Linked DNA regions of Homo sapiens: all the other regions are linked to region 1. Evidence: promoter capture Hi-C in 16 types of primary human blood cells and fetal thymus (Javierre and others, 2016). All regions are on one chromosome and are shown on one strand. The core of a region is centred on a gene start or on the middle of the fragment in contact, and the rest is flanking DNA. Distances in the headings are between cores, read along the strand shown.

Evidence for each region. The method cuts DNA at HindIII sites, captures the fragments that hold promoters and counts their contacts. A CHiCAGO score of 5 or more calls a contact.
Region 2: a contact is called between a fragment that was not itself captured here and the fragment with the promoter of CDCA8 in region 1, in 3 of 17 cell types (total CD8 T cells, fetal thymus and naive CD8 T cells). The highest score is 7.4, in total CD8 T cells.
Region 3: a contact is called between a fragment that was not itself captured here and the fragment with the promoter of CDCA8 in region 1, in 1 of 17 cell types (fetal thymus). The highest score is 5.7, in fetal thymus.
Region 4: a fragment that was not itself captured here is called in contact with the fragment with the promoter of CDCA8 in region 1 in 2 of 17 cell types (fetal thymus and non-activated CD4 T cells); the score reaches 6.8 in fetal thymus.
Region 5: a fragment that was not itself captured here is called in contact with the fragment with the promoter of CDCA8 in region 1 in 4 of 17 cell types (total CD4 T cells, fetal thymus, neutrophils and 1 more); the score reaches 5.6 in total CD4 T cells.
Region 6: a fragment that was not itself captured here is called in contact with the fragment with the promoter of CDCA8 in region 1 in 1 of 17 cell types (fetal thymus); the score reaches 12.1 in fetal thymus.
Region 7: a contact is called between a fragment that was not itself captured here and the fragment with the promoter of CDCA8 in region 1, in 2 of 17 cell types (fetal thymus and naive CD4 T cells). The highest score is 5.9, in fetal thymus.

The regions. Positions count from the first base shown.
Region 1 is chr1:37,690,383-37,694,430 of GRCh38, forward strand. It overlaps CDCA8 (cell division cycle associated 8), which reads left to right and starts at 2,134. Exons shown (of 10, transcript NM_001256875.2): 1 at 2,134-2,402; 2 at 2,523-2,651. The coding sequence starts at 2,309. It overlaps AIRIM (AFG2 interacting ribosome maturation factor), which reads right to left and starts at 147. Exons shown (of 5, transcript NM_001350770.2): 1 at 1-147. RefSeq lists enhancers at 875-1,385, 1,386-1,895, 1,668-1,857, 1,896-2,406, 2,407-2,915 and 1 more and silencers at 1,188-1,247, 1,268-1,437. The HindIII fragment of the contact is 4,527 bases long and covers 278-4,048 here.
Region 2 is chr1:39,576,114-39,580,161 of GRCh38, forward strand. It overlaps PABPC4 (poly(A) binding protein cytoplasmic 4), which reads right to left and starts at 677. Exons shown (of 16, transcript NM_001135653.2): 1 at 1-677. RefSeq lists an enhancer at 52-121 and a silencer at 622-931. The HindIII fragment of the contact is 1,332 bases long and covers 1,524-2,855 here.
Region 3 is chr1:35,884,780-35,888,827 of GRCh38, forward strand. AGO1 (argonaute RISC component 1) reads left to right here. Exons shown (of 19, transcript NM_012199.5): 2 at 3,648-3,831. Among named protein-coding and RNA genes, the nearest start is that of AGO1, 3.6 kb to the left of the region's middle. RefSeq lists enhancers at 1,003-1,642, 2,280-2,339. The HindIII fragment of the contact is 1,464 bases long and covers 1,415-2,878 here.
Region 4 is chr1:36,091,971-36,096,018 of GRCh38, forward strand. ADPRS (ADP-ribosylserine hydrolase) reads left to right here. Exons shown (of 6, transcript NM_017825.3): 4 at 1-124; 5 at 452-552; 6 at 1,127-1,962. The coding sequence ends at 1,416. COL8A2 (collagen type VIII alpha 2 chain) reads right to left here. Exons shown (of 4, transcript NM_005202.4): 4 at 3,269-4,048. Among named protein-coding and RNA genes, the nearest start is that of ADPRS, 5.1 kb to the left of the region's middle. The HindIII fragment of the contact is 2,490 bases long and covers 932-3,421 here.
Region 5 is chr1:36,143,180-36,147,227 of GRCh38, forward strand. The region is part of intron 1 of TRAPPC3 (trafficking protein particle complex subunit 3); the gene reads right to left. Among named protein-coding and RNA genes, the nearest start is that of TRAPPC3, 4.3 kb to the right of the region's middle. The HindIII fragment of the contact is 3,569 bases long and covers 608-4,048 here.
Region 6 is chr1:36,218,784-36,222,831 of GRCh38, forward strand. It overlaps a transcript of THRAP3 not described here. Among named protein-coding and RNA genes, the nearest start is that of THRAP3, 3.6 kb to the right of the region's middle. The HindIII fragment of the contact is 6,098 bases long and covers 1-4,048 here.
Region 7 is chr1:39,029,694-39,033,741 of GRCh38, forward strand. The region is part of intron 2 of NDUFS5 (NADH:ubiquinone oxidoreductase subunit S5); the gene reads left to right. Among named protein-coding and RNA genes, the nearest start is that of NDUFS5, 5.4 kb to the left of the region's middle. The HindIII fragment of the contact is 4,854 bases long and covers 1-4,048 here.

The DNA of each region.
Region 1 (4,048 bases), core at 884-3,383:
GTCTCTTCTCTGACATACAGTCCTGTCTCCCCTGCCCGAGGCTGCCGGTCGCCTTCCTGAAAAAGCGGAAAAACTTAAAAGTCCAGACAGCCAAAGCGTGAGAACCCTCCAGGGACTGCACCACGCGCCCACAGTCTCTCTGCGCATGCTCACACGCGACCTCCCCACAAAGCTACTCCGCGGGCCTGCCTGGCTACTGAGTCGCGAAAATATATCGTAGTGCCGCAATGACTTCTGGGTACTGTAGTCCAACATGTGGACTGGCCACTCGGCTTGAAGCTTCCTTGGGATTGGATGTTGGGACCGTCCAAACACGGCGACTTCTCATTTGTCAGCCTGCGGCAGTTTAAATTGGGTGGCGGTGGTGGCATGTCCTGTTAGCTGTGGAGTCTTTTCCTCTTATCTTGCGCCTCCGGTTGTGCCTTAATGACACTTTTGACATTGTGTATCACAACCAACTGGCAAAAACTAGTAAATCACGGGCTCCTGACGTGGCAGCTCTGGCTAAAATGCAGGTGGACGTCCTAGGTGCCCAGGGAGTTCGGGCTCACTGGGGAGTAGGGTGAAGGAAACCCTGAAACCGAGAGGCTGGAAGCCCGACTTGCGCAGCATAAAAACACCTGCAGGGGGAAAGCCTACATGAGGTACGGGTTGTCATCCCGTCTCATCTTGGCCATCTGACTGATGGAGATCCTCAGGCACCCAGCAGACTGGGGTGTCACCCCCACTACCCACTGCCCAGGGCTGACCTCGGGCGGAAGAGCGACATTCAAATATTTGTTGCATATGGAGCAACAGACCAGGGTGGAAGAGAGAGAAAGGACTTTCCAGGAAGGTCCAGGCTTGCCAGGACTTCTATGCTTGGACTGCTCTGTCCCCAAGCTCGCTGGTGCCCATCAGGAGCCTGCTTGGCACCTTTGCTTATTTCTTCGATTGTTCCTCAACTCAGAGGGGGAGAGGCAAGATTATCACTCCCATAGCCTATAACATGCACGCTTAAACACAACCCCTCTGACATGGCTTCAGACCGCATCCACAGGTGAAAAGCACCAAATCCAAACAATCAGGCCACAAACCCGTCAAGAGCTCGCCGGTCTGGCCGTCCAGTCGCCGCCCGCCTTGAGACTCAGCCTGAGCTACAGCTTCGAAACTAGCCTCTAGCCTTCTGGGTCTCAGCACAACTCTTGAGCAATCCAACCCTGTGGCCGTGGGCAGATACCAAGATGCACAGTTAGCACCTCCGACAGGACCGCGGCTCGGCGGGGCTCGCCGTCTACACGCCCATTCCCAGGCCCACGGCCACGACACCCAGAGCTGCCTCCTGCCCTGGGCTCCCTGGAGCCTGGTGGCCGCGGCTCATGCTGCAGTCACCGTGTGGCCAGCTGCCAAGCGCCACTACTTGCACCTGAAGTCGCAGCCCCGCGCTGCGCACCCAGTCGAGGCGCCAACACGCGAACTGGGCGGGAGTGGCCGGCCCGCGGGGGAGCGAGGAACGACAGGGTTCCCCCCACTCGCTGCCCAGACTGGCCGCGGGATAGCGCGCCCCCCCCAAAGCCTGCACCCCTGCCCTGCTCCTCTATCATTCCGTCCCCCTTGCTCTGTCAAACCCTGCCGGGGCTGCTCTGTCTCTGCCGACCCGCCACTTGCCCGAAGTTCGGCCTGAGGAGCTTGGGGCCCTGAGGAGCGCCGACGTAGGCAGCCAGCCAGTCAATCAGTCAGAGGGTCACGGCGGCCCCTCGGCTACTCAGTGGCAGCCAGGCCAGAAAGAAGCAGCCGCCAACCCTGGAGCAGAATCCTACAGCCGACCTGACCTAGTAGGCCCCCAGCCCTCCAGAGCTTGGGGTATTGCAGAGCCGCCACAAGGCCTGCCGGGAGTAGTAGTTTGTATAGTTCGCAGCCGGCCAGGGCGGAGCCGGGTGGGTTGGTGGGGAGGGCGGGGAAACAAGCCTGGACCACAACTCCCAGGAGTACCCGCGACGGCGGCGGCCTCGCTGTCGCACTCAGGCTATAGGGGGCGCATTGGGCGGAAGACCCTGGGCCGGCAGGAACTTGCTTGTGATTGGATGTTGTGGGACGGCGGCTTCTCATTCGTCAGCCTGTGACTGTGGAGTTTGAATTGGGTGGCGGTTGACTGTAGAGCCGCTCTCTCTCACTGGCACAGCGAGGTTTTGCTCAGCCCTTGTCTCGGGACCGCAGGTACGTGCCTGGCGACTTCTTCGGGTGGTCCCCGTCCGCCCTCCTCGTCCCTACCCAGTTTCTTGCTTCCCTGCCCCATCTCCGCCGCTCCCCGCAGCCTCCGCCGAGCGCCATGGCTCCTAGGAAGGGCAGTAGTCGGGTGGCCAAGACCAACTCCTTACGGAGGCGGAAGCTCGCCTCCTTTCTGAAAGACTTCGACCGTGAAGGTAAGGGGCCAGGCCGTCGCGGCCTCCTGGGGCGGTCGCGGGATGCTGGCGGGTGGGGACACGAGCTGCACAGATTCGCCCGCCCGTGACCCGTGTCCTGTCGGCTCTGCCCTCCCGCAGTGGAAATACGAATCAAGCAAATTGAGTCAGACAGGCAGAACCTCCTCAAGGAGGTGGATAACCTCTACAACATCGAGATCCTGCGGCTCCCCAAGGCTCTGCGCGAGATGAACTGGCTTGACTACTTCGGTAAGAGCTGGAGAGCTTCCCTGGGCGGAGGCCAGGAGCCCCTTGGGGTTAGGTGACACCCTTCAGAAAGGGCTCGCTCAGATGTCACCTTTTAATGAGATCTGACATGACCACTTATGGAAAATTGCAGACCCTTTCACTCTCTGTCTCACTTCCCTACTTCATTTTTCTCTATGAAAAATGGGGGGGTGGTTGGGGGGCGGCGGGCGGGGCGGTCTCTGTCGGACAACTCAGCTCTGCTGTTTACAGGTCCAAAACAGCTGTAGTGAATGGGCATGGATGGGCTGTATTCCAATAAAATTTTAGTTATGGATACACTGAAATGTGAATTTCACATAATTTTCACACATCAGGAAATTTATTTAATTTTTTTTAAACAGAGTCTCACTCTGTCACCCAGGCTGGAGTGCAGTGCAGTGCAGTGGTGCGATCCCTGCTCACTGCAACCTCCACCTTCTGGGTTCAAGTGATTCTCCTGCCTCAGCCTCTGGAGTGGCTGGGATTACGGTCGCCTGCCACCATGCCCCGCTGATTTTTGTATTTTCAGTAGAGACGGGGTTTCACCATGTTGGCCAGGCTGGTCTCGAACTCCTGACCTCAAGTGATCCACCTACATAGGCCTCCCAAAGTGCTGGGATTACAGGAGTCAGCCACTGCGCCCGGCCAGAAAATAGTATTTTTAAAAATATATGTATATTTTACCCATTTAAAAATGAATGAATAAATGACATGGTTAGTTAACCAGAGCTCAGATAGAAGAATAACCCGAAGCAGCTCCTTCTGCAGCTTATGGAAATTGCTAACCTAAAAATGGGCGCATCAGGCTGGGCGTGGTGGCTCACGCCTGTAATCCCAGCACTTTGGGAGGCTGAGGCGGGCAGATGACCTGAGGTCAGGAGTTCGAGACCAGCCTGACCAACATGGAGAAACCCTGTCTCTACTAAAAATACAAAAAAGTTAGCCGGGCGTGGTGGCGCATACCTCTAATCCCAGCTACTCTGGAGGCTGAGGCAGGACAATCGCTTGAACCTGGGAGGCAGAGGTTGCGGTGAGCTGAGAGCACGCCATTGCACTCCAGCCTGGGCAACAAGAGTGAAACTCCGTCTCAAAAAAAAAGACACATCAGTTTTCCTGGCCAGAGAAAAATCCCAGCCTGTTTCTGCACTCCCTTATTAAATGTCCGGAGAAATGCAGGAGGCTGTACTTTTCTGCTGGGTTGCCCTTTTCTGTTTTCCTTATTATTAACTATCCAGCATGTAGTCTCCTTCCTGGATAGAAATGCATGGTCTGCTCACATATTAGACATTGAATGATCCTTTTGACTTGCCCTTTTATTTATTAAGCCATTCATTTGCTTATTTCTCCAAATACTGAGCATGTGTCAGTCACAGTGCTAG
Region 2 (4,048 bases), core at 940-3,439, 1.9 Mb after region 1:
AACGGGAGGCGGGGGCCGGCTCCCACGGCCGCAGCACCGCAGACAAAAGGCTCTCCGCACAATACGGCCCTCCCCGCGACTTTGCACTTCTCCGCGGTCCTGGTGCGAAGCTCCAAATTTCAAAAAATCAAAGTAGGAAAAAAATTAAACGGGGAATCCCCTTCCGAAGGGTAAAAATCCTTTAAGAGGCGACCGGACGCTGCCCACGGCGGCCTCGGGGACACGCGTTTCTCTATAAATATAGGCCTCGGGCTCCGGCGGTTTAAGATTACAACCGCCGGGGCAGAGGGAAACCAAATCTTTGTGGGCGCCGACTCGGCGAGCCCCGGGCGGGCGGCGAAGGGCAGCACGGACACGTGGTGCGCCGGGGCAGGCGCGGGGCGCGGGGCTCGGGGCCCGAGCGGGGGGAGGGCACGGCGGGCCGGGCGGGCGGCTCACCCCCGGACCGACGGACGGAGACCGACGGACGCCAAGCGCTGCGGCGGCGGGCGCGGGGCAGGCCGGAAGCGTACGAAAGTGACTTCCCCGCGGGTTCTCCGAGGATTCGTTTTTTCTTTTCCTTTTTTTTTTTCAGGATTTTGAAGCGTTTTCAGATTTTTTTTATCTTTTTCTCTTTTTTTCCTCAGGCTGCGAAGCCCGAAAGCGGCGGAGGCGGCAGCGACCCGGGGCGGAGAGAGGCGGCCGAGGGAGCCACCGCTCCATTTATACCCGCCCGCCCCGGGCGCTGCTGGTCGAAGGGCGCCTCGCGACCTGGGCGCAGTCGTGCCCGCCCACTCGGCCCGGGGGCCCGAGGCGGGGCGGCCACGCGAGAGCGACCCGGCGCGGCCGCGCGGCGCTACAGCGACCCCTGGCGCCGGGAGGACCGCCCAGCTCGCGGCTGCGGGAGACCCCAGGGCCCCTTTCTATAACAAATAAATCTTAACACCCTCCCACCCATCACCCGGGAATGGAACCTAGGAGCCATTTAACCTGCACACACGCATGAGGTTTAAAATTAAATGGTATGGGGCTGGGTGCAGTGGCTCACGCCTGTAATCCCAGCACTTTGGGAGGCCGAGGCGGATGGATCATGGAGGTCAGGAGATCGAGACCATCCTGGCTAACGCGGTGAAACCCCGTCTCTACTAAAAATACAAAACATTAGCCGGGCGTGGTGGCATGCGCCTGTAGTCCTAGCTACTCGGGAGGCTGAGCAGGAGAATAGCTTGAACCCGGGAGGCGGAGGTCGCGGTGAGCCAAGATCGTGCCACTGCACTCCATCCAGCCTGGGCAACAGAGTGAGACTCCCTCTCAAAAAAAAAAAAATTAAATGGTATGCCAAATTGTGAAATGAAGGTGACATAAAATAAGTTAAAATAAAATAATAGGTGGTCCAATAGGTAAATGTCTGGGTCCAAATACAATAAAGATTTGAGAAGTTTTCAGGATACCGTTGACCTAGAGGTAGAATCGTCAGGAACTAGAAATGCAAGCAGTATCCATGGGTGATGGGATTTTCTGAAAAGATGAGCACATTTTGGTAAAGCTTCAATGAAACCAAACACAAGCATCCCCTCTATTGACATGCTGGTGGCATTCCCGGACATTTAGTTTGTGTTTAAGGGCACAGAAATACTTTCTGTTCCTATGTTTAAAGTTTCTTCTAGGCTTGGATAATTATAAAAAGACTTTTCATCTGCATGAGAGTCTGGCAGGTCATTTGAAAGTCGTATCACAGGCCAGGCGTGGTGGCTCACGCCTGTAATCCCAGCACTTTGGGAGGCCGAGGCGGGCGGATCACTGAGGTCGAGAGTTCGAGACCAGCATGACCAACATGAAGAAACCCCCGTCTCTCCTAAAAATACAAAAAGTAGCCAGACATGGGGGTGCATGCCTGTAATCCCAGCTACTCAGGCGGCTAAAGCAGAAGAATCGCTTGAACCCGGCAGGCAGAGGTTGTGGTGAGCTGAGATCATGCCATTGCACTCTAGCCTGGGCAACAAGAGCGAAACTCCGTCTCAAAAAAAAAAAAGTCATATCACTTTATAGGACTATGTTATATGGGACTGTCCACACGCATTACAAGATATATAGCATCCCTTCTTCCATAAGTGCCAGGAACCACCTTTGCCATCACTGTGAAAACCAAAAACAGAAATTGCCAAAAGACACAGACATCCCCCTTCAAAAGCACTGATTTAAGTAAATGACTAAAGAAATATGTGTATTTATATATTAATTAATTCAAATAAATGGTTAATCTGAGCCTACTCTATGCCAATGTCAATACAGGGGCTGGAGATACCATGGTGGACCAGAAGTCACTCCCTCTCTCATGGAGTTTATATTCTAATAACTATATTAAATCAAGAAACATTGGCTGGGCACGATGGCTCACACCTGTAATCCCAGCACTTTGGCAGGCTGAGGTGAGCGGATCACCTGAGGTCAGGAGTTCGAGACCAGCCTGGCCAACATGGTGAAACCCCATCTCTACTAAAAATACAAAATTAGCCGGGCATGATGGCACGTGCCTATAGTCCCAGCTACTTGGAAGGCTGAGGCAGGAGAATCGCTGGAACCCAGGAGGCAGCGGTTGCAGTAAGCTGAGATCATGCTACTGCACTCCAGCCTGGGTGACAGAGCGAGACTCCGTCTCAAAAAAAAAGGAACATTTATGGGAGTGCTCCTTCTATAGATTCCCTCCTCAGGAAAGTCTTCCTAGACCTCCTGTGGTCTAAAGTAGCCGTCAACATTGTTAATCACTATCACACCAACTTGTCTTCTTGTCTTCAAGCCTGTTATTCCTACCCAAAATTATGTTGTTCTATATCTGTTTACCTGTTTAGTATCTATCTTTTCCACATTGGTATATAAGCTTCATGAGAACAGGAATCTAGAATAGTGCTTAACATAGCACGTACTAAATGTTCAGTAACTGGCCAGGCAGGTGGCTCACACCTATACTCTCAGTGCTTTGGGAGGCTGAGGCAGGAGGATCGCTTGAGCCCAGACATTTGAAACCAGCCTGGGCAACAGAGTGAGACCCTATCTCTACAAAAAAAAATTTTCTTTTAATTGGCTGGGTGTGGGGACACATGCCTGTGGTCTCAGCTACTTGGGAGTCTGAGGTAGGAGGATCGCTTGAGGCCAGGAGTTGAAGGCTGTAGTGAGCTATGATCATGTCGCTGCACTCCAGGCTGAGCAACAGAGTGAGACTCTGTTACTAAAAAATAAATAGATAAATAAATATTCAATATATGTTTGTGTGTGTGTGTGTGTGTGTGTGTGTGTGTGTGTGTGTTTTCTTGTTTTTTTTGTGGGGGGGGTATGAAATCTTCCTCTGTCACCGAGGCTGGAGTGCAGTGGTGCAGTCTCGGCTCACTGCAACCTCTGCCTCCCAGGTTCAAGCAATTCTCATGCCTCAGCCTCCCAAGTAGCTGGGATTGCAGGCATGCGCCACCACACCTGGCTATTTTTTTTTTTGAAACCAACTCTCGCTCTATTGGCAGGCTGGAGTGCAGTACTGCGATCTAGGCTCACTGCAACTTCCGCCTCCCGGATTCAAGCAATTCTCCTGCCTCAGCCTCCCGAGTAGCTGGGACTACAGGTGCGTGCCACCACACCTGGCTAATTTTTGTATTTTTAGTAGAGATGGGGTTTCACCATGTTGGCCAGGATGGTCTCAATCTCTTGACCTTGTAATCTGCCCGCCTCGGCCTCCCAAAGTGCTGGGATTACAGGGGTGAGCCACCACGCCCAGCCTTTTTTTTTTTTTTTTTTTTTTTGAGACAGAGACTTGCTCTGTCACCCAGGCTGGAGTGCAGTGGCGTGATGTCGGCTCACTGCAACCGCCACCTCCCGGATTCAAGTGATTCTCCTGCCTCAGCCTCCCAAGTAGCTGGAATTACAGGCACCCACCACTATGCCCAGCTACTTTTTGTATTTTCAGTAGAGATGGGATTTCACCATGTTGCCCAGGCTGGTCTCCGACTGCTGACCTCAGGTGATGTATTCGTCTCGGCTTCCCCAAGTGCTGGGATTACAGGCGTGAGCCACACACCCAGCC
Region 3 (4,048 bases), core at 897-3,396, 1.8 Mb before region 1:
GTCCTTAGGATGGGCTGTGGGGTGGTGATACCTCTTGTGTCTTAAGTGTCTTACCCTGTGATGGGACGAGGAGCCTGGACCTGGGAATCCTTCAGGTCATCTCTCACCACTTCCTTACATTTGGTCTGGGGATGGGAATCAAATTTCCATTTAGGCCATGAACTTCATTACTTTCCTAGTGGAATTATTTTGTTTTTTTTGTAGCAGACCTAACTCCCTCCCACCCTCCCAAGGAAATAGCTCCTACGACCTCACTCAAGTTATCCATTTAGTGATCTCTAAGTACTTAGTGACTGTTTTCCCTCTTAACAACCAGCCTTGTATAGACTGTGTAGTCGTAAGGATAAGCACAGGGAGCAACTGACTTGAGTACTTCCTCTCTGTCAGGACCCTCTCTCCATCCCAGGAACTTCTGTTTTTCAAGGCTGGGGACTATTTCCAACAACCCATGAACTAGAGTAGTGGGGTAGGTCATTGAGGTCCACATGGATTGCTGGTTGCTGGTACCCATTCTAGACTAATGATTTTTATCCTGATGAATTCCTAATAGGCTCTGGAGTGATGAAAAATTGACTTTTTAAAAATTTGTTACAAAAAATAAGCTTATAGGAAAGGAGCTAGAACCTGCTGTTTGGAGTCAGCCAAAGCCTTGGGAAAAGCCGAATAGGACAGGCTTTGCCTCAGTAAAGGGTATAATTGAGATTCAGTCTGGAAGCTGCAAATTGAGGGACCCCATAACTGCCTCCTTCCTAGGCCCGGACTGTTCTCTTATAAGAAGTTAGAGTGGTGTCCCAAGGTGGCCTGAGGACATAATACACAAAACTAAAGCGTTGTGTAAAAAACAACAACAAAAAACCCCCCAAAAACTAAAGCATTGTTGCTAGCCTCACTGGGCTTATGCCCAGGTCTGCCTTCTGTGCTCAGGTGTGTTCCAAGCACATACAGTGGACTGGGTGCTCCCTGAGGGTAGAAGCAGTGTCTGGTTTATTTGTAGAACTAGCAAGTGCCTAGTGTATAGGCCCTGGCACAGAATACATGTTTATTAATTAAATCAAATCACATTCAAGTGTGAACATAAATGGTTAAGCACGTATGTGGATATTTAATAAAGTGTATACTCACATGGAACAGATCCTTTTTGGAGAGATTGGCTTGTTAGTCTTTGCTTGCCCACCAGCTAACCTAACCTAACCTAACCTTGAATTTGTGTCTTTTGAATAGGCAGTCTGGCTCCTTGGGAGGTGTGTGGGCCTCAGAACTGCAAGAAAGGAATCCTGAGCCAGGGTTTTCAGCTCTGTTACTTTTCCTTCTCTGGGCTCCTTGGGGATGGGGGAGGGGGAGTGTCCTTTTCAGGGCCCCTCCCTCCTTGCTTTTGTCTGAAGAGAAGGGTCCCGCCCCTTTCCCCCTAGGCCCAAGCTTTGTCCTCTGTGCTGGGGCCCTCATCTGCATCACAAAGTGGCCGTCTGTCCCTGTCTGGGTCTGTAGGGAAGTGTCTCCCTTTCTCAGACTAAAAGCTGGGGTAAGGGGGGCGGGGAGGAGACAGTGCTGTTGTTAGGCTTTCAGGGGGATGTAATGGGAGAGAGGTTCCTGCTTCCTGCTGTCTTTCCTAGTTTGGAGATGAAGTGGGGGTGTGGGCTCCCCTGTTTTCCCAAAGCCTCTTTGGAGAGGAAGGTGCTCTAAGGCTATGTGTGGTATGTAGTCGGGTTTCTGGGGAAGAGAAGGCTTTGAGGCTAGAGTGTCTGTCCCATCCCCCATCATTTCTAACTAGCCCCCCAGCTCTAGGAGTTATCTTTCTCCGAAGGCCCCAAATGATTATTCAGTCTGGGAGGGGAAGAAGGTGAATGAAATATAAGAACTTGGGGAGGGAAAGGATGTCTCTTACTGGCTACACCCACAAACGTGCATATTTGTCTTGTGTAGTGTTTATAATTGTTTCTGGGCAATTGCAGGTGTTCGTGTGTCTGTGTGCTGTGTGTGCTTGTGTGTTTTTGTGGTGTGTCTATGGATATGTTTGTTCATTCATTTCATATCAGTATGTTGAATACTTCCTGTGTGTGTGTCAGACACTGGAAATTAAACAGTGACCAAGGCAGATATAGTCCCTGCCTTTGAAGAACTCAGTCTAGGGCAGTGAAGGATATGTGTGTAAGTGTAAATTGCCAAGGTCTAAGTGTGTGTTTGGATGTGTGTGATGGGGATGTGTGTCTGTCTGTCCGTGAGCTTGTGTGCAATTTCTGTCCAGCACTTTCTGAGGTAGGCAGCCAGGTGCTAGTAGATAGGTTTTCCCTTCCCCATGTAGCTGAGTTCTGAAGACCTTTTCCATCCAGGCTGGGCCTTCATTTCCCTGTCTGCAGAGTGGGACTGGGCTTGGACAGGTGGTTAGAGGGAAACAGAGCAGCTTAGCTCTGGGAAGCTGCCCCTCCCATGAATGGTTCTGACCTCTTCCTGACCCCCAGCTGAGGGTATGCCCCATCCCCCCAGCTTGTCTGACTGTGAAAGCAGAAGTCTGATAATGGGAGGTTCTGGGCTGGTTTATCCCTCTCTTCTCCCACCTGGGCTAGTTCTCTACTGCCAAGAACAATAGCAGCATATTATTCCCTTTTTTTCTCTCTTCCCCCCAAGCTAGAAAATAAGACTGGAGACAGCAGCCAGACTGGCAAAAGAGGGTAAAGTAGCTGGATCTGGCCTTACCCTATCCCTTTCCCAAGGGCCTCCTCTGTCTTGAAATTGATCTCTTCTGCTGCTGTCTGGACCTTCTGTGTGGAAGGATCTGTGGGGCATGGAGAGAATCTTGTGTTCTTCCCAGAGCCAGTGTCTCTTCTCCAGCATTCTAATTGCCACCTCTTCTTCCCAAACCCGTTAGTTCTTTCTTTATTCAAGCTTTTTTTTTTATCATTGTCTCCCCAGTTGCTGCTTTGTTTCTTCCTGCCTGAGCTTCCAACCCTAACCTCTTTTGCCCCACCCCTTGACTCCAGCCTTCTCTTTCTCCTGGCCTTTTTCTTTTGTGACCTCCAGCTCTGTCCTCTTCTCCAACCCCCTTTCTCTTTTCCTTAGTCTCCAAACTCTGTCCTTTGAGCCTTTTCTCCTTTTCCCTGTCTCCAACTCTCGCCATTCAGTTGCCTTAATTCTGCCTCAAACACTGACCCTGCCCTCTCCAGCCTGGCCTTGTCTGGATCTTATTCCTGCCCACCTATAAAGGAACATCAAGGTTATGCCATTTTGTATTCAGCATGGTGGCGAATGGAGTGAGCATCTGGCTGGCAGAGAATAGAAATTCTTGGTCTGCTAGATACCTGGTGGAGGCAAGTGTCTTACTCTACTAGAAGAAAGAAAGGGTTTTGTTACTAGGAGCCAGATTTAGTCTCTCTGCTTAACATGCAATAGGAACTTATTATATATTAACTTAATGAATTAAAAATAGACAATAAGGATAATTTTCCTAACTGGAGAGAGATTAAAAAAGAAAAAAGAGAAAAAACACAGATGAGCTTGAGATGTCCCCTGGAAGCCCTTGGCTGGGTTGGGTAGCAGGAAAGAGGCATTCTCTATACTCTCGTGTTCCTGTTCTGGGAGGCCTTGTTCCTCCTCTGATAAGAGTAGTTAGGAGATTGCCAGACTTTACCCTCACCAGCCTCTTTGTCTTGTAGCTGCGGGCGCTTACCTGCCCCCCCTGCAGCAGGTGTTCCAGGCACCTCGCCGGCCTGGCATTGGCACTGTGGGGAAACCAATCAAGCTCCTGGCCAATTACTTTGAGGTGGACATCCCTAAGATCGACGTGTACCACTACGAGGTGGACATCAAGCCGGATAAGTGTCCCCGTAGAGTCAACCGGTAAGTGATGCACACCTAAGCCACCAAATCTGAAAGACACCAACCTTGAAAGAGGGGCCAGAAAGGTAAAAGAAAAACCAGTAGAGGGTAGTATCACCAAATCTAAGGAAGTTTTTGAACGGGAGATGCCACGTCGGGTAAATGCTGAAAAATAGTCCAATTGGACTTCGCTATTGGAAGATTATTAGTGGCTTTTGCCAGAGCAATTTCAGCAGAA
Region 4 (4,048 bases), core at 927-3,426, 1.6 Mb before region 1:
TGCAGGCCCTGGCTGTGCACCTGGCCTTGCAGGGCGAGTCTTCCAGCGAGCACTTTCTCAAGCAACTCCTGGGCCACATGGAGGATCTGGAGGGTGATGCCCAGTCCGTCTTGGATGCCAGGGAGTGAGTATGGGGCTGGAGGTGTGTGGTGTGGGTATGTGGGTGATCCAGGGGGCCTCTGGCATTGCCGCAAACTGTAAACCTTCCTCAATTGCAGACCCTAGGGAGGCATGGGCAGAAGCCCCTTTATCTTGTCTATGTTTCAAGGCTCTCAGGGTCCCAGAGAACGAAACGACCTGCTCACCCCAGCCCTCTCCCACCTCTTGTCGGCACCTGTGCCTGGCTGCCAGCCTGACCACATCCCTGCTCGTTCTCACATGCAGCCCTCTCCCCTGCCCGCGCCACCACCCTGCTAGCTCTGACCTCCCTGAAATCTCCCCTAAACCACAGGTTGGGCATGGAGGAGCGTCCATACTCCAGCCGCCTGAAGAAGATTGGAGAGCTTCTAGACCAGGCATCGGTGACCAGGGAGGAAGTGGTGTCTGAGCTAGGTGAGTGGGTCTGCCTGGGATTGTCTCTCCCTCTGTCGTCCTTCAGGGTCGGTCTTGGGCTCAGGGGAGCATGGAGTCATGCCTGCCGTCGCATTGTACCCTGGGCTGCTGTGACACGGAGTCAATGGCAGGGTTGAGCTCAGCGCTTCTTGCTCTGAAGCTACAGCACCCTCAGCCTTGTGGACCAGTGTCCCCAGAAATGGCAGCTGGCCACTAGTCGTAAAAATGTTGATAATGGATTTTATTTGTCTAGCATCTATACTGGGCGTTGTGCAGAATGCTTCACAGACACGATCTCGCTTCATCCTCACAACAGCCCTGTCAGAGAGTTGCTAACGTTACTCCCTGTCTGCTTAAGGAGTTGAATCTGGGAGCAGGAAGCTTAGCGGTCCCCTAGGTAACTCTCCCAGTCACGCAGCCAGTGTGTGGTGGAGCCAGGATTTGAGCCCAGGTGGTCTAACTGTAGAGCCTGAGATCTTAGTCACAGCCTGCTTGAAGCCGAGAGTGCTGACTTGTGTCAAATGGTAGGAGGCCTGGGGAAGCATGCAGCCCCTCTAACCTGGCTTCCCCACAGGGAATGGCATTGCTGCCTTTGAGTCGGTACCCACCGCCATCTACTGCTTCCTACGCTGCATGGAGCCAGACCCTGAGATCCCTTCTGCCTTCAATAGCCTCCAAAGGACTCTCATTTATTCCATCTCACTTGGTGGGGACACAGACACCATTGCCACCATGGCTGGGGCCATTGCTGGTGCCTACTATGGGATGGATCAGGTGCCAGAGAGCTGGCAGCAAAGCTGTGAAGGCTACGAGGAGACAGACATCCTGGCCCAAAGCCTGCACCGTGTCTTCCAGAAGAGTTGATGAGGGCTACAGCTGTTGGGGCTCTGCCAGGTCCCCTGGGACCAACTACAGCTCCAATCAGAAACCCTGCGCTTCCTTGAGTGTGGCTTCCCACTTTTCCTGCATTGTGGAGCTGACTGAGTACACCGGTGAGGCTGGGGTCTCTGCAGGGGAGGTCACTGGAACAGCGAGCAAGGGACTGGTGCCTCGCTGGTGCTGGGTCTCTGGTTTGCTGCAGAGCCGTAGGACACTCCTGGCTCCTCAGTAGGACAGACAGACGCAGGCGGGTTTATTTTGGAGGGGTACTTGTGGCATTTTCCTGTATTGTCTTGGACATGGGATGTGGGGAGGTGGAAATGATGAGCAGTAGCATCATTTCTCCCTGTTGGGTTTTAGCCAGTTTGCCAGCAAGCGCATCCTAGCAGGGTCCCCGAGCAGCAGGTTGTGTGGATGAAGGGACAGGCACTTGCATCCAGCTGATCTAGGTCACACCTGGCTCTTGGCTGCCATGTGGCTTATTAACAGCTTCCAGTGGAAGTCGCAATAAACAGTTTTTGGTAAATCTCACCACTGTTTCTTGTTTCTCCTGCCCTGAATGGATTCTCCCCTGCCAGCCTGATCTCTGAAGACTAGTGCCTTTGTCTGTGCTGCACTGTCATAGAAGCTGGGGCCCCAAGGCCATGAGCTGCTGTGTTGCCAGGCACTCCAGCTGGCTGCGTGTTCAGCCAGGAAGGGCACAGCAGGCATGGTCTGGTGGCTTTTCCTGTTAGAGATCACTCAAAGTGGCCCAGGCTGCTGGGCCGAGTGCTTTGCCAGAGGCAGCGGGTAGGAACAAGCCAGATTTTTCTGTTCTCAGAGCCTGACTTCCCCAAACAGGAGCTAGGCCCAGCTGGGCCAGGAACAGGAACCCTGTAGAAGGATCCAGAGGGCCCTGCTATCATCAGACTACCAACCTTTGGGTGGGGAGGGCACCATCACGGGGCCCCGGGTGGACTGAGTGCCGTGTGCCTCCTCCTGTATCTTGGGACCAATCAAAAGCCTTTCCCTGCAAGGAAGTTTTACACAGCATGTTTTTAGAGATGGGGTCTCACTCTATTGCACAGGCGATCCTCCCACATGGGTTCCCAAGTATCTGAGACTAGCATCCATTCTGAAGAAGGGAAAATTGAAAGGGGGAAGATGCCTCCCCTCAAACTCCAGGGACATTCTCTGAGCATCCAGCCTCAGTGGCTAGCCGAGCATGTGCAGTCTGCAGCTGCCCTGCGGTTTCAGCACTCTCGGGCAGATCTGTTTTAGTGAAGATAGGGTTCTGGCTAGGCTGAGGACTCTTCAAAACACAGATTGCTTCAGGTCTGCCACCCAGACCCCCAGCGCCAGGGACAGATCTTTCGTGGCTGAGCATGGCAGGCTGTGAGCAGGTGCTTTCCGCCCAGGACAGCTCCCCCAGCCTGTCTTCAGCACTGGGCCTGACACTAGCCCAGCCCTTAGGAGCAAAGATTCATGATTTCATTCATAATTTGTATCAGATGTTGAAACTTGGCCCTCGGACTACTGAGCCAGCTGTCATGCTCCACTAGCCCTGAGAGCTTGCAGGAATATTCCAGTAAAGATTGAGCCATCGCCCCCAGCTCCAGCCACTACCTGCCTTTGGTTTCTTAAAATGCCTCCTGGCATTTGCCTGGCGCATGGCCTCAGCAGCTTACGAGCATCAGGCATTTGTGATGTGGTGGTGACAGAAATCCAGGTTAGGGAGCTGGTGAGGAGTGCATGATCCTTAAGAGCAGGCACACAAGCCCCAGAGAGCTTCCTGGACACCTTACAGAACCCAGAGGCTTGAGATACCTCTGTGTCAGTATCAGTTTCAGCACAGTGCTGTTTTATACAACAGGTTTTATTGAGGATGTGTCAATACAGTTAACATGGTTGCTTGTCTTTTCAAAAAGAAGTTCCATTTTCTTTGATTCCCAAGTGCATTTTTCCTGAATCTTCTGTGATACAGGGCACATGATAGGTATGTAGAGAGCTAAGCTTCCTATACCAAGTTAGAAGTGAAATGACTAGTGGAAAACATTTAAACTTTAATCTTAAAAAAAAAATAGGAATCAATATAAAAATGCACAAGGTAATGTCGTTTTCATAGTTAAAATCTGACATTGTTTATCAAAGCTAGTCAGTTAAGTGGACACCTGCAACTCAAATCCCATAAACATTTTAGAAACGCCAACCACCCCTCCTGAAAGGTTTGAGGAATGAAATTTGGCAGAAGCTCAGCTCTGTGAAATAGCTCCCGTTTTTTTTCTTGGGACCCTACTTAGTTCCGTGGGCTCCCATTGGGAGCTGATTAATTTCTGCCAATCAGAACCCATCCCTAACACATCAGATGATAGTGGCTTTGACCTAGGGAAGAAGAGGTTGAGCGAAGAACCCCCACCAGGTATGGTTTGAGAGTCCTTAGTTGGTTTTCTTGGGCGTTAGGTAGTAAGAAATCCACCAGGAACCCCAGCCAAAACCTTCTCAAGTGTCACTTGGGCAGATTTGGGTTATCATTCCTCCTTTTGAAGAAGTGAGCAAACAGCCTGCTTTGTTTGGAGAAGTTGTGGGCAGGGGAGGAGGGTTGGCAAGGAACCTGAAGGAACCCACTGCTCAGCCAGTC
Region 5 (4,048 bases), core at 1,142-3,641, 1.5 Mb before region 1:
TGCCAGATGGTGATAGGTGCTATGGAGAAAAATAAAGCACAAAAACAGATTGGGGGCATTTACGTGTGTGTGTTGGGGGGGTGGTTAATTTTAATCGAATAATCAGGGAAGGCCTCACTAAGGTGATATTTGGTAAGCCATGAAGATATCTGGATAGATAGCTGGTCTAGAAAAAATTCTAGGCACTAATTCTAAAGATCCTGAGGTACAAGTATGCCTGGTGTGTTTGAGAAACAGCGGGAGACTCTTGGCCTTAGAGAGGAGTAAGCAAGAGAGAACAGAAAAGGAAATCAGATAAGTGACGGGAGGTTGCAGAGTCTGAAGACCTGGGTTTTCAGCCCTTGTGACTTTTAAAACAAAAGTTCTCATGGGATCATAAAGGTCATAAAGGTCAACCAGCCCAATCTCTTCACTGAACATAAGCACCACATCTCCGCTACCACCAGAAACATGAATCGCTTCTGCAACACATCTATTTTTGTAACAGTTTCTCATAACAACCACGAGAGGTTAGCAGAACAAATATTATTCATCCCCATTTTACAGATGACAGGTTAAGTAACTGAGACTCAACAGCCTACTTATAGTTGAGCATTATCCTGTAAAAAGCTTTGTTATCCTAAGCCACTGCTTAATCTTCCTGAACATTAGTTTTTCCCATCTGTAAAATGGTGACAATGTTACCTGCCTTTCAGAGTTACTGTGTAATTCCAATGAAATTCCAATCAGATAATGTTTGTGGAGCACCTGCTGCACAGCAGGTACTCAAGAAATACATACTTATTTTTATTCTTAAACTGGTTCCATGTGGTGTGGTGCTAGATCACACCCTGAACTAGGTTCAAGGAGGGCAAGTACAGCACTTTGGGAGGCCGAGGCGGGCGGATCACCTGAGGTCAGGAGTTCAAGACGAGCCTGGCCAACATGGTGAAACCCCGTCTCTACTAAAAATACAAAAATTAGCTGGGCGTGGTACTAGGTGCCTGTAATCCCAGCTACTTGGGAGGCTGTGGCAGGAGAATTGCTTGAACCCAGGAGGCGGAGGTTGCGGTAAGCCAAGATCATGCCACCGCACTCCAGGCTGGGAGACAAGAGCGAAACCCTGTCTCCAAAAAAAAAAAAAAAAAAAAGGGAGGGCAAGTCATAAAGAAAGAAGATTTTGAATCAATATAAACAACTTTCTGGCTGGGCATGGTGGCTCATGCCTATAATCCCAGCACTTTGGGAGGCGGAGGCAGGGGTCGGAAGTGGTCACCTGAGCCCAGGAGTTTGAGACTAGCCTAGGAAACACATTGAGACCCCATCTTTATAAAAAATAGAACAAATTAGCTGGGCATGGTGGTACATGCCTGTAGTCCCAGCTACTCAGGAGGCTAAGGTGAGAGGATGGCTCGAGCCTGAGAAGTCAAGGCTGCAGTGAATTGTGATTACACCACTGCATTCCAGCCTGGACAACACAGCAAGATCCTGAAAGCCTGATTCTGAGTCTGGACTTGCTGCTTAACAGCTGTGAGTACTTAGGTAAATCAATTCACTGGGCTAAGCCTCAATCTTCTAACTCAAAAAAAGTAACAGTAAAACAGTAAAATCTGTCATGCCATTCACAGGGTTGTTGGTAGGATCTAGTAAGATAATGGACTTGAATGTGCTTTGCAGACAAGAAACCACAGGATTTATAGCAGCTATGCTAACATGATCTCCAAGTACTTCAGGCACAACCTGAACAAAGTAAATGAAACCAGCTCTACACTCAGGTGAGACACCACTTGACAGTTTTCAGGAGGCCTTTCTTCCCGTTAGTGCCCCAAACAAAATGTCAAATCTCCTTAAGGAGGCTGATCTTTTTTTTCTTTTTTTTTTGAGACGGAGTCTCGCTCTGTCGCCCAGGATGAAGTGCAGTAGCGCAATCTTGGCTCACTGCAAGCTCTGCCTCCCGGGTTCCTGCCATTCTCCTGCCTTGGCCTCCCGAGTAGCTGGGACTACAGGCGCCCGCCACCACACCCGGCTAATTTTTTGTATTTTTTTTCTTTTAGTAGAGACGGGGTTTCACCGTGTTAGCCAGGATGGTCTCCATCTCCCGACCCTGTGATCCACCCGCCTCCACCTCCCAAAGTGCAGGGATTACAGGTGTGAGCCACCATGCCTGGCCAGGAGGCTGATCTTTAGAGCCAATGCTCCAAGACTCATACTATTTTTGTCAAAATAGGTAATCCAGTGTGAATCCCCTCTAGCAGCTGGAGGAGGATCAATAGCAAGACTAAATCCAGCCAACTCTCTTACCCTCCAGCCTTTTGTCATGGAGACTCCAAGTGCTACTACGTAAGTAATGGCTCACCTGAGCTCAGGGGAATAGACACTGGGTTGGGTCACAGTAAGCCAACGCAAGAGAAGGGCAGGTCTCATTGTCCATGGGATTCCAGAGCCAACCCCCGTACAGGCACATGAAGGCTACTAGCTTTACTAATAACACATCTAGAGGACACTTACTGGGTGTCAACTGTGTTCTAAGTGCACCGTTACACTGCTAGCTTTACATGCATTCTCTCAATTAATCCTCAGAACAACCCTATAATATAGGTACTATTATTACTTCATTTTTTTATTTTTGTTTTGAGACAGAGTCTCGCACTGTCGCCCAGGCTGGAGTGCAGTAGCGCGATCTCGGCTCACTGCAAGCTCCGCCTCTCGGGTTCACGCTATTCTCCTGCCTCAGCCTCCCGAGTAGCTGGGACTACAGGCGGCCGCCACCACGCCCGGCTAACTTTTTTTTTTGTATTTTTAGTAGAGACAGGGTTTCACCGTGTTAGCCAGGATGGTCTCGATCTCCTGACCTCGTGATCCACCCGCCCTGGCCTCCCAAAGTGCTGGGATTACAGGCGTGAGCCACAGCACCCGGCCTTTTTATTTTATTTATTATTTTGAGATGGAGTGTTGCTATCGCCAGGCGGGAGTGCCGTGGTGCCATTTCAGCTCACTGCAACCTCCACCTCCCGGGTTCAAGCGATTCTCCTGCCTCAGCCTCCTGAGTAGCTGGGACTACAGGTGTGCACCACCACACCCAGCTAATTTTTGTATTTTTAGTAGAGATGGGGTTTCACCATGTTGGCCAGGATGGTCTCTCTTTTTTTTTTTTTTGAGATGGAGTCTCACTCTGTCACCCAGGCTGGAGTGCAGTGGTGCAATCTCAGCTCACTGCAAGCTCCGCCTCCCGGGTTCAGGCCATTCTCCTGCCTCAGCCTCCTGAGTAGCTGGGACTACAGACGCCCGCCACCGCGACCGGCTAATTTTTTGTATTTTTAGTAGAGACGGGGTTTCACCCTGGTCTCCATCTCCTGACCTCGTGATCTGCCCGCCTTGGCCTCCCAAAGTGCTGGGATTACAGGCATGAGCCACCGCACCCAGCCTACTTCATTAAAAAAAAAAAAAAAAAAAAAAAAGATGATTAAGCTGATGCTAGAACAATGAACAAACTTGCCCAAGGTAACACAGCAAGTAAGTGGTGAAACTAGAACTCAGGTGCAGGCGGTACTACACCTCTGTATGGCAAACATTTCTTTTTATTTTTCCACTGCTAGAAGATACACAGTATATATGGTATACATTTCTGTCTCCCTCACAGAGTATGTGCTTCTCAAAGTTAGGGACTAGGACTTCATCCTTGCATCTCCCACAGCATCTAGCACAGAGCTCTGCATATAGTTGGGGCTAAAGAAAAGTTTATTGGACAAAAGGGCTGTTTCTGTTTGCACAGACTAAAATCTAGTTACTTGGGCATACTAACAATTTAGATGGCTCTTGAGCCGTTTGCTTGAGCCTGCTCCTGCTATGTGGAGTGTACTTTCATTTCAATAAATCTGTGCTTTTGGTGCTTCAAGAAACAAAAAATGAAGGCTGGGTGCAGTGGCTCATACCTGTAATCCCAGCACTTTGAGAGGCTGAGGTGGGGAGATCACTTGAGGTCAGGAGTTTGAGACCAACCTGGGAATACAAAAATTAGCCAGCCGTAGTGGTTGGGTGCCTGTAATCCTAGCTACTCGGGAGGCTGAGG
Region 6 (4,048 bases), core at 992-3,491, 1.5 Mb before region 1:
CAGCATTTCGGGAGGCAGGGGCAGGTGGATCACGAGGTCAGGAGTTCGAGACCAGCCTGGCCAAGATGGTGAAACCCTGTCTCTACTAAAAATACTAAAACTAGCCAAGTGCAGTGGCGGGCGCCTGCAATCCCAGCTACTTGGGAGGCTGAAGCAGAATAATTGCTTGAACCCAGGAGGTGGAGGTGGCAGTGAGCTGAGATCACGCCACTGCACTCTAGCCTAGGCAACAGAGCAAGGCTCCATCTCAAAAAAAAAAAAAAAAAAAAAAAGTGCAACTCCAGGGAATAAATGAATTTGATAAGAAGGCAAAACAGCCTTATTGCTGATACAGAGAGAGTTTTAGTGACCTACAAAGAAGATCAGATCAGTCACAGCATTCCCATAAACAAAAGCCTAATCTAGAACAAGGCTCCAACTCTTGTCAATTCTGTGAAGATTGAAAGAATTGAGGAAGCTGCAGAAAAAAGTTTCAAGCTACCAGAGTTTGGTTCGTGAGGTTTAAGGAAAGATGCCATCACCGTTACATAAAAGTACTAGGTGAAACAGCAAGTGCTGATGTAGAAACTGAATCAAATTTTGCAGGAGATCTAGCTAAAATAATTGATGAAGGTGGCTAAACTAAACAACAAATTTTCTCTTTTTTATTTTTATTTTTTTAGATGGGATCTCACTCTGTTGCCTAGACTGGAGTGCAGTGGAGCAATCTCGGCTCACTGTAACCTCTGCCTCCTGGGTTCAAGCGATTCTCCTGCCTCAGCCTCTCAAGAGGTTGGGATTACAGTCACCCGCCACCATGCCCAGCTAACTTTTTTTTTTTTTTTAAAGTAGAGACGGGGTTTCACCACATTGGAGAGGTTGGTCTCGAACTCCTGACCTTTGGTGATCTGCCTGCCTCGGCCTCCCAAAGTGCTGGGATTACAGGCGTGAGCCTCCGTGCCCGGCCCCTGACAGATTGTCAATGTAGATGAAATAGCCTTCCACTGGAAGCAGATGGCATCTAGGACTTTCATAGCTAGAGAGCAGAAGTCAATGCCTGGCTTCAAGGCTTCAAAAGACAGACTGATTCTCTTTTTTCAGGCTAATGCAGCTGGTGATTTTAAGTTGAAGGCGATGCTCATTTACCATTCTGAAAATCCTAAGGCCCTTAAGAATTACGCTAAATCTAATCTGCCTATGCTCTACAAATGGAACAACAAAGCCTGGATGACAGAACTTTTTTCTTTTTTGGGATGGAGTCCCACTCTGTCACCCAGGCTGGAGTGCAATGGCGTGACCTTGGCTCACTGCAACCTTCACCTCTGGGTTTAAGTGATTCTCCTGCCTCAGCCTCCTGAGCAGCTGGGATTACAGATGCACACCACCACGCCCAGCTATTTTTTGTATTTTTGTACAGATGGGGTTTCACTGTGTTGGCCAGGCTGGTGTCAAAGTCCTGACCTCAAGTGATCTACCCATCTCGGCCTGCCAAAATGTTGGGATTACAGGTGTGAGCCACTGTGCCCAGCCCTAATGTTGTTTTTATGCCTGCTAACATGATGTCCGTTCTATAGCCCATGGATAAAAGAGTAATTTTGACTTTCAAGTCTTATTTAAGAAATACATTTTGTGGCCAGGTGTGGTGGCTCATACCCATAATCCCAGCACTTTGGGAGGCTGAGGTGGACTGATTACTTGAGGTCAGGAGTTCGAGACCAGCCTGGTCAAAAAATGGTTTACGATACAATCAACTCTTGTTGTAAATGTTGTGAAGGCTGGGTGCAGTGGCTCATATCTGTAAATGAATGACAAGAATGAATAAATGAACCCAGCACTTTAGAAACCCAGTGCAGGAAAATCACTTGAGCCCAGGAGTTTGAGACCAGAATGGGCAATATACTGAGACCTCGGCTGGGCACAGTGGCTCACGCCTGTAATCCCAGCACTTTGGGAGGCTGAGGCGGGTGGATCACCTGAGGTGAGGAGTTCGGAACCAGCCTGACTAACATGGCGAAAACCTGTCTCTACTAAAAACACAAAAAATTATCTGGGTGAGGTGGCGGGTACCTGTAATCTCAGCTACTCGGGAGACTGAGACAGGAGGATCGCTTGAACCCGGGGGCGCAGAGACTGCAGTGAGCAGAGATCGCACTACTGCACTCCAGCCCAGGCAACAGAGTGAGACTGTCTCAAAAAAAAAAAAAAAAAAAATATATATATATATATATATATATATAGTGAGACCTCATCTCTACAAAATAATTTTTACAATTTTAGCTCAGCATGGTGGTATGCACTTGTAGTCCCAGCTACTTGGGAGGCTGAGGCGAGAGGATCCTTTGAGCCTGGGAGATGGCGGTTGCAGTGTGCACATATTGTGGGCCACTGCACTGCAATCTGGGTGACAGAGTGAGACCCTATCTCAAAAAAAAAAAAAAAAAAAAGCTGCGAACATTGTTGAAGTGACAACACAGGATTTAGAATATTATGTAAAGTTGGTTGATAAGACACCAGCAGTATGTGAGATGAGTGAGTCCAATTTTGAAAGAAGTTCTGCTGTTAAAATGCTATCAGAGCACTGCACGCTACAGAGAAATCTTTCATGAAAGAAATAGTCAACTTTTCATTTTCTCAGTGGATGAAAAGGGAAAAAAAAAAGAAAGGAAGAGTAAATGGATGGGGCAAACTTCATTGCTCTCTTATTATCAGAAACTGCCACATCCACCCCAACCTTCAGCAGCTATCACCCTAGTCAGTCAACAGCCATCAGCATAAAAGCAAGACCCTCCACCAGCAAAAAGTGACCACTTGCTGAAGGCTCAGATGACAGCATTTTTATTGAGACAGTTTTGCTCTTGTTGCCCAGGCTGGAGTGCAATGGCGCGATCTAAGCTCACTGCAACCTCCGCCTCTTGGGTTCAAGCGATTCTCGTGCCTCAACATCCCGAGTAGCTGGGATTACAGGCATGTGCCACCACGCCCAGCTAATTCTTTTGTATTTTTAGTAGCGACGGAGTTTCACCGTGTTGGTCAGGCTGGTCTTGAACTTTTTTTTTTTTTTTTTGAGACGGAGTTTTGCTCTTGTTACTCAGGCTGGAGTGCAGTGGCACGATCTCGGCTCACCGCAACCTCTGCCTTCTGGGTTCAAGCGATTCTCCTGCCTCAGCTTTCTGAATAGCTGGGATTACAGGTGCCCGCCAGCATGCCCAGCTAATTTTTTGTATTTTTAGTAGAGACCAGGGTTTCATCATGTTGGCCAGGCTGGTCTTGAACTCCTGACCTCAGGTGATTCACCAGCCTCGCCCTCCCCAAGTGCAGGGATTACAGGCGTGAGCCACTGCGCCTGGCCTTGGTCTCAAACTTCTGACCTCAGGTTATCCACCCGCCTTGGCCTCCCAGTGTTGGGATTACAGGTGTGAGCCACCACGCCAGGCTGACAGCATTTTTAAGTAATATTCTTTATTAAAGTATATATATTTTAGGTCATAACACTAGTGCACACAATAGACTACAGTATGATGTAAACATACTATATAACTTTAATATGCACTGGGAAACTTGGACTAACCTTACTGCAATCTTTGCTTTATTGTGGTGTTCTGGAACTGAACCTGCAATATTTGAGATATGCCTGTATTTCTTTTTTTCTTTTCTTTTTTTTTGAGACGGAGTCTTGCTCTGTCGCCCAGGCTGGAGTGCAGTGGCATGATCTCGGCTCACTGCAACCTCCACCTCCTGGGTTCAAGCGATTCTCCTGTCTCAGCCTCCTGAGTAGCTGGGATTACAGGTGCCCACCACCACGCCCGGCTAATCTGTAGTATTTTTAGTAGAGAACGGGTTTCGCCATGTTGGCTGGGCTGATCACGAACTCCTGACCTCAGGTGAGCTGCCCGCCTCGGTTCTCCCAAAGCGTTGGGATTACCGGCGTGAGCCACCGCGCCCGGCCTATGCCTGTATTTCTTAAAAGGGGAGCCAAAATTATGTATTTTGGTATCCATCTAGTTTACTACCGTGTTCCCAGTATTTTACACTGGGCATTGTATACAGTAGACACCCAGAAAATCTTTGA
Region 7 (4,048 bases), core at 847-3,346, 1.3 Mb after region 1:
CCACTCTGAAGAAGATGGAGGTGTTAATGAGATTGCTGTACATGAGCGTGAACAACGATGCAGTGGAAAAGGGATGTTAACAGCTTAGTGTTCACCTCCTCAAAAGTTGAATGAGTTGGCCAGGCACGGTGGCTCACGCCTGTAATCCCAGGACTTTGGGAGGCTGAGGCGGGTGTATCACGAGGTCAGGAGTTTGAGACCAGCCTGGCCAAGATGGTGAAACCCTGTCTCTACTAAAAATACAAAAATTAGCAGGGCATGGTGGTGGGTGCCTATAGTCCCAGCTGCTCGGGAGGCTGAGGCAGAAGAATTGCTTGAACCCGGGAGGCGGAGGTTGCATGGAGCCGAGATCGTGCCACCGCACTCCAGCCTGGGCGACAGAGCGAGACTCTGCCTCTAAAAAAAAAACCAAAAAAACAAATTTAAAAAAATCCCATGCAGTGGCTCATGCCTGTGATCCCAGCACTTTGGGAGGCCAAGGTGGGCGGATCACCTGAGGTCAGGAGTTCAAGACCAGCCTGGCCAACATGGTGAAACCCCGTCTCTACTAAAAATACAAAAATTACCTAGGCATGGTGACAGGGGCATGTAATCTCAGCTACTCAGGAGGGTGAGGCAAGAGAATCGCCTGAAACTGAGAGGCAGAGGTTCCAGTGAGCTGAGAACACACCACTGCACTCCAGCCTGGGCGACAGAGCGAGACTCCGTCTCAAGAAAAAAAAAAAAAAGATGGCCCGGCACAGTAGCTCACTCCTGTAATCCCAGCACTTTGGGAGGCCGAGGCAGGCGGATCACAAGGTCAGGAGTTCGAGACCAGCCTGACCAACATGGTGAAACCCCGTCTGTACTAAAAATACAAAAAAATTAGCTGGGTGTAGTGGCTGGCGCCTATAGTCCCAGCTACTCGGGAGGCTGAGGCAGGAGGCTGAGGCAGGAGAATGGCATGAACCCGGGAGGCAGAGCTTGCAGTGAGTCGAGATTGTGCCACTGCACTCCAGCCTGGGCGACAGAGCGAGACTCTGTCTCAAGAAAAAAAAAAAAGAAAATAAAAAAAAGATTTTGATAAATTGATACCAACAGGAGGCATTGTAGTAAGGTGGAAAGAACATTGGATTGGGAGTTAGGAGAGTCAGGTTCTGATGCTGGTTCTGCCACCACTCATTTGTTGTTGGTTGATTAATTTTAATTTATGTTTTGAGACAGCGTCTCACTCCCGTCGCCCAGGCTGGAGTGCGGTAGCGTGTTCACAGCTCACTGCAGATTCAACTTGGGTTCAGGTGATTCTTCCACTTCAGCCTCCCAAGTAGCTGGGACTACAGGAGTGCACCACCACGCCCAGCTAATTTTTTGTATTTTAGCAGAGACAAGGTTTCACCATGTTGCCCAGGCTGATCTCGAACTCCTGAGCTCAGGTGATCTGCCTGCCTTGGCCTCCCAAAATGCTGGGATTACAGGTGTGAGACACTGCACCTGGCCCTAATTTTGATTTTATTTATATAAAATAGAAATGGGGTCTTCTTGTGTTGCCCAGGCTGGTCTCAAACTCCTGGGCTCAAGCGATCCCACATTGGCCTCCCAAAGTGCTGGAATTACAGGTGTGAGCCACCACACCCATCCTGTTAGTCGTGTTTTTGAGACAGGGTCTTGTTCTGTCACCCGGGCTGGAGTGCAGTGGCGTGATCATAGCTTACTGCACCCTCAAACTCCTAGGCACAAGTCATCCTCCTGCCTCAGCCTCCCAAGTAGCTAGGACTACAAGTGCATGCCACCATGTGCGGCTTTTTAAATTGTTTATAGAGACAAGGTTTTGCTATGTTTCCTTTGCTGATCTTGAACTCCTGGCCTCAAACGATCCTCTTGCCTGGGCCCCCCAAACTGCTGGGATTACAGAAATGAGCCGCCACGTCCAGCAAACCACCACTAGTTTTGTGACTTTGAGCAAGTCACTTTCTCTTAGTCTTCATTTCCTTATCTGAAACAATTAAAGAATTGCTCTAAGGTCACTTCCTAATCCTGTGAATTTATGAATAGATAAGTTACCATTTTCAGGGTCACCTTAAGTGAACAGATACCTCCCTGTAAGTGAAGAAGCTAGTGAGTCAGAATTAGAATCAAGTCCTATTGTAAGTTCTTAGCATATTATAATGCATGTATTTCTCACAACAATCCTATGAGATGAGTTACTATTAGTTTCCCCATTACACAGTTAAAAATTTAACTTTGGGAGGCTGAGGCGGTGGATTACCTGAGGTGAGGAGTTCAAGACCAGCCTGACCAACATGGTGAAACCCCCTCTCTACTAAAAATACAAAAAATTAGCTGGGTGTGGTAAGGGGGTGCCTGTAATCCCAGCTACTCAGGAGGCTGAGGCAGGAGAATCGCTTGAACCCGAGAGGCGGAGGTTGTAGTGAGTTGAGATTGCGCCACTGCACTCCATCCAGCCTGAGCAACAAGAGTGAAACTCTGTGTCAAAAAAACAAACAAATGAACAAACAAAATTTAAGGCAAAGAAAAGTTAAGGACATTGCTTGAACTTACATAGCTAGTAAATGGTGGAGCTGGGATTTTATCCTGGCAAGGCTGGCTTCAATACCTATGCTTTTATCCAGAGTTACTGCTTTTAGCTCAGAGAAAGATTTGACATATGGTATTGTCATAGTTCAAAACCATGACTAGTCTTGTGTTGGGAGACTCTAAGATAAATGGTAAGAATGTAGTCTTTTAAAATGGTTAATGTTTATTTCAGGGTTTTTTCTACTGAAGTTATATCAACACTACTTCTTTAAGGTTAATGAGACGTTTAACTGAATATACTAATTTTTCGTATCTTTGTGAAAAGTTAGTCATTGGTTAAAAAAATTATGTCAGAAACTAGTCTAGGCACTAGGAATACAGTAAGCAAAACAGCAAAAAAAAAAAATCTCAGAGTCAGTGAGCTTATGCTATAGTGGGAGGAAGAGCAGAAAAATAACAAGTAAAAATACAGGTGATAATAAGTGCTGTGAGGAGAATAAACAGAAGGATAGAAAGTGCTAGGGGCAGGAGCTAGGTGGATGCTACTTTAAATAGTCAGAGAAGATCTCAGCAAAAGAAGACAGACCAGAGACTTAAAGAAAGTGAGCTATGTGGTTATGAGGGAAGAATGTTCCATGCAGAGGAAACAGCAAGTGCAAAGGTCCCTGAGCTGACTGGAGGGAGCTAGGGGAATATTAAGAGATGAAGTCACTGGAGTAGGCCTTGTAAACCATGATAAGGATTCATCTTTTTGTCTCAGTAAGATAGCCATTGCAGGGTTTTGAGCAGAGGAATAATGTGATCAGATTTAGTAAATTTTCTGTGTCACAGAATCCAGGGACCAGTTCATTGTTGTGGCTTTGACACACTTGTGTAACATAGTTTTGATTTGTTGAGAAGCAACCAATGCCCTGAGTAGAAGAGACAGAATTCAAGACTCAGCGGTGACTAGTGGCTGAGTAAGAATCAGGCCTTTACTTCCATATGGGGAAAAGAGAACTCATATTGGCTATTTCTGCTTCATTCATACCCATTGCATAGTCACCAGCAGCAGTGCCACTTCCACATAGAATATGTAAGTGCTTGCCGGGTGCGGTGGCTCACGCCTGTAATCCCAGCACTTTGGGAGGCCGAGGCTGGCGGATCACGAGGTCAGGAGATCGAGACCATCCTGGCTAACATGGTGAAACCCCATCTCTACTAAAAATACAAAAAATTAGCCGGGTGTGGTGGCGGGCGCCTGTAGTCCCAGCGACTCGGGAGGCTGAGGCAGGAGAATGGCGCGAACCCAGGAGGCGGAGGTTGCAGTGAGCTGAGATCGTGCCACTTTGTCACCCAGGCTGGAGTACAGTAGCGCGATCTCAACTCACTGCAACCTCCGCCTCCCGGGTTCAAGCGATTCTCCTGCCTCAGCCTCCTGAGTAGCTGGGACCACAGGCGCGCGCCACCACGCCTGGCTAATTTTTGTATTTTTAGTAGAGACAGAGTTTCACCATATTGGCCAGGCTGGTCTTGAACTCCTGACCTTGTGATT